Regions from separate parts of the Homo sapiens genome. Here region 1 is linked to region 2. The links are contacts of gene promoters, found by promoter capture Hi-C in blood cells and fetal thymus (Javierre and others, 2016). All regions are on one chromosome and are shown on one strand. Each heading gives the region's core, a stretch centred on a gene start or on the middle of the fragment in contact. The rest is flanking DNA. Distances are from core to core; before and after follow the strand shown.

Evidence for each region. Contacts are between HindIII fragments. The CHiCAGO score rates a contact against its expected background, and 5 or more counts as called.
Region 1: a fragment that was not itself captured here is called in contact with the fragment with the promoter of TMSB10 in region 2 in 1 of 17 cell types (M0 macrophages); the score reaches 5.3 in M0 macrophages.

Annotation. Positions count from the first base shown.
Region 1 is chr2:85,274,858-85,278,686 of GRCh38, forward strand. The region is part of intron 3 of TCF7L1 (transcription factor 7 like 1); the gene reads left to right. Among named protein-coding and RNA genes, the nearest start is that of TGOLN2, 51 kb to the right of the region's middle. The HindIII fragment of the contact is 1,600 bases long and covers 1,333-2,932 here.
Region 2 is chr2:84,904,021-84,907,650 of GRCh38, forward strand. It overlaps TMSB10 (thymosin beta 10), which reads left to right and starts at 1,636. Exons shown (of 3, transcript NM_021103.4): 1 at 1,636-1,698; 2 at 1,983-2,097; 3 at 2,369-2,651. The coding sequence starts at 1,998. The coding sequence ends at 2,403. It overlaps LOC105374836 (a long non-coding RNA gene), which reads right to left and starts at 3,001. Exons shown (of 2, transcript XR_940308.3): 1 at 2,643-3,001. RefSeq lists a silencer at 1,393-1,932 and enhancers at 1,899-3,098, 2,903-2,962. The HindIII fragment of the contact is 2,703 bases long and covers 1-2,255 here.

The DNA.
Region 1 (3,829 bases), core at 883-3,382, 370 kb after region 2:
ATTTCTTACAAGCTCCCCGCATGCCCCACACTCTGCCTGGTCCTCTCCAGTGTGAGAGGACACTCACACTTGAGTGTGACAGCCACACGTGAGATAATCACTCTGCCAGGCAGTAGGTGTTCTTATTCCTATTTTACATGTGGAAACCAGAGGTTCTGAAAGGTGATGTACACAGGCACACAGCTTGTAAGTGGGGTTCAGCTAGGACCCCTGATTCCGTATTTGTTGAACACCTCAACACGGTCGGCACTCCCAGTGCCCTCTGTGTTTAGACAAACAGCTGAATTTGATTTTTCCTTCCAAAGGAGACCATCTAGTCCAGGCCCCTGCTTCAGGCTGATGAAGTAAAATATTCCCATTTTAAAGATGAGACGATGGAGTCCAGAAAGGTTAGAAAGAGCCTGGAACCCTGATCTCTTGCCTCCTGTGCTCTAAAACGAAAGCTTGGCTTCTGCGGGGGAGCCAGTTTTTAAAAACAAACCTTAGGTCAAATCTAGGAGGCAAAATTGCCAGGTTCTTTGGAATGCGAGGGGAAGAGAATAGTTTTGAGATCATCCACAAAAGAAAGAATCATTTGGGGAAAGCAGAGGAAAGAGGTGTTTATGGTGAAACTGACACCTAATTGACACACTCTTACTTTTGAGTTTACTATTCAGTTATGAAATGCTTTTGGAGCCCCTCTGCTACCAGTGCATGGGCTTTAAAGCCATTTGTTGACTAAATGCTGTGACAGGTGCTAGAGAGAGCAAAGTCACTTCATTGGTTTAAGACCAGTGTAGGCCAGGTGCGGTGGCTCACCCCTGTAATGCCAGCAGAATTGGGAGGTGAAGGCGGGCAGATCACTTGAGCTCAGGAGTTCGAGACCAGCCAGGGCAACATGGTGAAATCCTGTCTCTACCAAAACTACAATAAATTAGCCAGGCATGGTGGCACATGCCTGTGGTCCCAGCTACTTGAGAGGCTGAGATGGGAGGATTGCCTGAGCCCAGGAGGTGGAGGTTGCAGTGATCTATGATTGCGCCACTGCACTCCAGCCTGGACGACAGAGTGAGACTCCATCTCAAAAAAAAAAAAAAAAAATACCTCAAGAAAGAATCTAACCTACCCTCAGGTAAAACAAAAAATGTGTTTGGGATTTAGTGCCATCCACAAAGTTAAGCAAAGGCATAAATGACTCATTCTTAAGAAAGAAGGGATAAGAGTGTAAAACTTCTTTTATACTTTTGCCCCTGGAACTCTTTGTCTAATCCATCTTGTTTGGGAACAAGTTCTTTACACTTTCGTTTTCTCTTACCGACTGCTGAAAACTAAAAATGTTTTCCCAATTGGGAAAGCTTTTCTGTCTCCCTATTCCTGAGTTCATTGCTCAGTGTCAGTGTATTTTCAAACTTAGATCCATTTGTGAACTTTAGTACAGAAGATAGAAACAGGTCTCCAAGAACTGGCCAAGTTGGGCATCCCAGCCTCCATGCTACATTTACGTATTCTCGGCAGACTAAGCCAGTTACTGTGAGAAGCAGGCGTTGCCCATGAGTGAAATGGGCTCCTGTGTGGCGGCTTCCCACCACAGTGACAATGACATTATTCAAAATGCTCTCCTTGTCCTCTTAGAAGCTCTATGTAACAGGAACCTATACTATAACCGTATTATAAATGAAAAATGTGAAGAAGCGATCCGTGTCTCCCCGTCTCCATTCTGCCACAGTTGCAGTCGTTTCTTTCCTGGACTACGGCAAATCCTACCAGAGTCAGCCTTCTAAACACCAGTCACATCTCTCCCCTGCTCTAAAGGCTTCAGGCAGAGGCTGTTCAACCCCTCGTTACAGATGTGGAAACTGGGCCTAAGCTCACGGCATTAATACAGCATGGGACAGGGTTTCAACACATCATGATTGCCGGGTTCTGGGTGAGGAATTGAGGTGCAGCATGACCCTTGAGGAGCTTACCGTCCCAAGGGCAGACAGAGTGTGCAAATGGGGAGGAGTAGCCTGGTGAGTGCTATGGAAACACCGTGTACCGCTTCTCGAGAGCGACAGACTCATGGAGGCTTCATGCCAGGGAGGGTGACCTTGGGAGGAAATGGGTTTTGAAGAAGAGGGGTTAAAGTTTCCCACGAGTGAAGGATGCAGTAAAGGCCGTAGCAGGCCGGGGAGCAGCAGGGCAGCATGGTGCGTTCAGAGTGCAGTGAGGACTCTGTGCAGCTGGGGTGGGGGGCGGTGAGGGTGGAAGCCAGAAGGATAGGGTGGTGTGGGATTGCTGGTGAGTTTGGGGGCTTTATCTCTTGACCCCAGAAACCAACCAGGGAAGTGTTCTGAGCAGGGGAGAGATGTGACTGGTGTTTAGAAGGCTGACTCTGGTAGGATTTGCAGTAGTCCAGGCAAGAAACGACTGCAACTGTGGCAGAATGGAGACGGGGAGACACGGATCGCTTCTTCACATTTTTCATTTATAGTACGGTTATAGTATAGGTTCCTGTTACATAGAGTTTCTAAGAGGACAAGGAGAGCATTTTGAATAATGTTATTGTCACTGTGGTGGGAAGCCACCTGCACCCGGAGTTTGGGTGTAGCCTTGGGTTCTGGGTGGCACTGGGACTTTACATCTCCCGAAAAGCCTGGGCAACCCTTGCTTCTCTATCAAAGGGGATCCTGGCTCTAGGTCCCCAAAGTCACTGTTTACCATAGGGGTCCAGAGAGGCAGGAAGGACCGGTCACCAAAACTGGGACCCTTTGTGTCTGCTGATGGGCAAGTGGCCAAAAATGGGCGAGACCATGGGGCTGGAGCAAGGGGCGCTTTCTCTGCCTACTGGGCCTTTCCTCTAGAAGCAGCGGAAGGCGTTCTCTGGGCTGGAGTTTTCTCACCTGTGCAGTTTTTGGAGCTGACTTGTTTTCCTTGCATGCAACTGTGGGGAGCTGTGGATTCTGTAACATGAAGCTTTGTTTCCTCTGTTGCCCAGGCCCTGCTTAAAGGCTTTTCTGTGAGAACGTGCGAACAGGGAGAATGTGGGCATTCCCCCGAGCCCTGTAGAGTCCTGTCCACACTAAGCAAGTGTGGGACAGGGTGAGGACGGCTGGGGCGGGGCCCTCCCTACCTTCTGGGAGCCGGAGGGTTAATCTCCGTAGCTCATTGGCAGTCCTGCCTCTGTACAGGGCATGCTGGGATTTCCTCCCAGCTGTTTTACATCACGAAGATTTGTGTGTTGGGGAAATTCCAGGGCACAGCTGCAATTAATCTGCTCCATGGCTCCAATCAAAGCAAGGATTCTGTAGGATGGATTCTCCGCCTTCCTGCAGGAAAGGGGGCTCTAGCTCTCTAGTGACAGCATCCTTCAGAGGGACCCTTCCCGAGATCCACGTTGAGCAGAAACAGCCCGCCTGGCCAAGTGCTCGCCCCAAGGAGGGCTCTAAGGAGGGGCCCAAAACATTGAGAAAGAGAGGAGCAGAGCCCCTCTGAATAATAAAGCCACAAGGACACTGATGGCAACACTCGATAAAGATGTCACCCAAAGAAAAGAAAACTTTGTTCACCTTTACTTAGGAATGTAAAAGTCAAAAATTTAAAACATGACTAGCATTCCACAATACAGCGTAAGAAGGAACAAACCACCATGACCAAATAGGGCTTACCTGGGAAATGCAAAAATGCCTTCATGTAAGAAAATCTATTGCTATATATACATCTCATAAATGAGTCAAATAAGAGAAACCACATGACCATTTTGGTAAATGCCGAGAGAAAAATGCAACAACTGCTCCAATGAAAACAATGTAAAAATAGGATTAGAATCATCCTTCCTTAATGAGGTAAAGACATGTTTTAAACCACAGCC
Region 2 (3,630 bases), core at 386-2,885:
AGAGACCCTGCTAAAAAAAAAAAAAGAAAGAAAAAGTATCCACTCTATGCCTCTTCTTTATCTCACCTCAGTTTATGCCAAGGCTATTTTATAGATGAAGAAACTAAGGAAAAGATTTGCCCAAGGTCACACAAGCCTATGCTCTCTTCCCACTGTTCCAAACTGAAGGAACGTGAGAAAAGCAGGTAAAATCAGGAGGGGAGAAGCAGGGAGTGGTGCTCAGGCTTGTAATCCCAGCACTTTGGGAGGTTAAGGCAGGCAGATGGCTTGAGCCCAGAAGTTCGAGACCAGCCTGGGCAACATGGTGAAATCTCGTCTCTACAAAAAGAACACAAAAGATTTGCCGCTAGTGGTGGTGCACGCCCGCAGTCCCAACTGCTCAGGAGGCTGAGGTGGAAGAATCACTTGAACCGGGGAAGTCCAGGCTGCCATAAGCCGTGATCACACCACTGCACTCCAGCCTGGGTGACAGAGTGAGACCCTGTCTCAAAAAAAGTAAATAAATAAAATCAGGACCGAATTTAGGATGTCACCACCAAATCCCACTTTAAAGAGCTCGGTAATACTTCACACTTAAAAAAGGAAAGGTCAGGACAAATAAAAGAATGACCAGCCTTAACTCCGGGGCTGGTAATTTATGGAACTTATTACCTAACGGTGTTGCACAGGCTGAAAATACAACTTTTCTAAGAAAGATGTGAATAATTGCAGTATACCACTCCTACAATGGGTTAATAAGAAAAACAAGAACGTTTGTAGGCATGTGGGTCTCTATTATCCTCAAGGTTAACTTCAAGGAGGAAAACCGCACCCGCTGATACAGTGTTTCTAGGAGCTCGACGAGAAAAGGCAAACTGCGAGCCTTCTCGGGACGCCCTGTTCCCACCACAGCCCTTCACACAATGCGTCTAACAGCATTTAAGGAACACCCGCCACGCCAACGATCCTGCTGGAACCGCCCAGTTCAGGGAACAGGGGACGACTGACCAGAAGGCAACCGCCCCCAACCTGAGCAAAGAGCGCTGGAAACCTATTCCCCCCTCCCCCTACACCCCCCCGCCCCCCGCTCCACTACGGGACCCTCGGCTCGAATTCTTTTAGTGCAGGACCACCTTAGGACTCAGCCTCCCTAAGGAGAGGAAAAGTGGGGGAGGGAAGGGGACTCTGGAGGAGCAAAAGCAAGAGGCCTGGGGGCGACTGGGGTGGGGCGTCTCCTAGAGCGAGGATTGCTGCAGAGTGCGCGTGCACGCCCGCACATCCACACCCACGGCTACACATCATATCTGCACACGCACAAAACCACACACCCTCCCACGCCGGTCCCATATCCTTTCTGCGGGGTGAGCAGCAGATTCCCGGAAAGGGGGAAATGTAGCCGCAAAAGCAAAGCCGGGGGCCTGGCGCCCACTCTGGCGGCGACTACAGCCCCCACGCTGGGCACACTGCGAGCTGGGGGTGCCCGGCGCGGGAGAAGCCGCGCCCAGCCGGGCTGGTAGCCCAGCGGGGGGCGCGGCAGGGCGAGGAGCAGCCCGCGCTGCTCCCGCCCCTCGGGTGCCAGCACCGCCCCTGCTGCGGCGGGTGAGGGGCGGGGCGGGGCGCGGCGTATATAAGGCTAGGGGCGGGCGCCGCTCTTTTGTTTCTTGCTGCAGCAACGCGAGTGGGAGCACCAGGATCTCGGGCTCGGAACGAGACTGCACGGTGAGTGCGGCGCCGGGGCGGGGGGCCCACCCAGGGTGTGGTCGGATCCGGTGCACCGGGCGGGCGCGCCGCAACCGCGACAGGCGCCCTTCTCGGACCGGACGCAGGGGCCGGCGACCACGCCCTGGGACCGAGAAGAGGGGTGCGGGACGCGCCCAGATCCTCGGCCTTGGGGCTGCTCGGCACGCCTTGGCGCGAGTGCCACGTCGAGAGGCGTCGGCGGGGAGCGCGGAAGGGGACGCTGGCCCCCAGGCCCAGGTCAAGCGCCTTGGTTTGCCCACTAGGATTGTTTTAAGAAAATGGCAGACAAACCAGACATGGGGGAAATCGCCAGCTTCGATAAGGCCAAGCTGAAGAAAACGGAGACGCAGGAGAAGAACACCCTGCCGACCAAAGAGAGTGAGTGTGCCTCGGTCTCCCGCGCCCCAGCCCAGCCCCTCACCCTGCTCTTCCTTGCAAACCCACTCCTCCACCCCCCACCCCGCCGTTGTCCCCGGTGTGGGCGGCCCCGGCCACTCTTTCAGTTTCACAAAGCGCCTTGTTTCTCCCCAGCCCCAAGCTTCCTTCTAAATCCCCACACCTCGTGGGTGCCTCGCCCACACCGGGAAGCACCTCGGTTGCGGGTGGGGGTTGCAGCTCCCCTCCAGCGCCCGCTTCCCGCTCTCCACAGCCATTGAGCAGGAGAAGCGGAGTGAAATTTCCTAAGATCCTGGAGGATTTCCTACCCCCGTCCTCTTCGAGACCCCAGTCGTGATGTGGAGGAAGAGCCACCTGCAAGATGGACACGAGCCACAAGCTGCACTGTGAACCTGGGCACTCCGCGCCGATGCCACCGGCCTGTGGGTCTCTGAAGGGACCCCCCCCCAATCGGACTGCCAAATTCTCCGGTTTGCCCCGGGATATTATAGAAAATTATTTGTATGAATAATGAAAATAAAACACACCTCGTGGCATGGCTGGCGTGGTCTGAGTCTTTTAGTTGAGTATGCGTGGGCAGTGCCACTGCAGCAAAGCCCCTCGATGGAGTAGAGTTCCTGCCGCAAAGGGGAGGAGGTGGGTCGCAGAATGGGCTGACTCGGAGGGAGTTTTTAATTTTGGCTTTACCTGCTTCTCCGTAAGATTTCATGACTTGTTAGCCACTTAACTCTTGCTCGTAAGCAATCTGTGTAAAATTTAACCCCACTTTGTCCCCAGGTTGCGTTGGAAAATGCTTTTTCAAAAGAGCAAGGTTTGCTTTTGATAAGCTTCGAAAGCCCCACTGTTTCCCTCTGGCCTCCTCCTAGCTGACTCAGAAGGGAACACTGATTTTAAAGAAAGAAAAGACAATCTGGAATGTTGGAAATTGGGTGAGGTCACAAAGTCTCCGGAAGCCTTTCTTCGGGAGCTTAAAACAAAGGCGGGATCTAGGGATACAGCAACGGGAACGTCAGAACTAGAAGAACCAACACTAGAACTGGGGGAGGGGAGGGGGGAAGAGCTTTTGTCTTTTAACCCTAGTTCAGAACCTCCCACAAAAACATTAGCCATTAGAGGAAGTGCTAGACTGATCTGCTACCACCCAGTGCTCAGCAGGAAGGGTGGGGATGTGGTGGGAGGGAGGAAGGGTGGGCTGGCGCTGGCGCTGGCGGCCAAGCTCCAAGGGATGACACCTCAAACCCACAGGGAAGGAATAGGACCAGCCCAAGGGGGCCTGACAGTTGGGAACCTGGGGCTGCAGGCCATTCAGAAGCAGAAGAAACAGGCTTATAAAGACAGGGGTGGAGTTTTCTTTAAGGAAGGTGGATAGGACACTGCTTAGAGATTCGTCCCACATTTTTGCCCGGCCCCAAGAGGCTGGGCACTGGGTGAAGACAGTTAATTCGAATAAGATACGGTCCCTGTCCACGAGGAATTTAAAATCTGGTGAGTGAGATAGCCACAGCAGACCAGAGT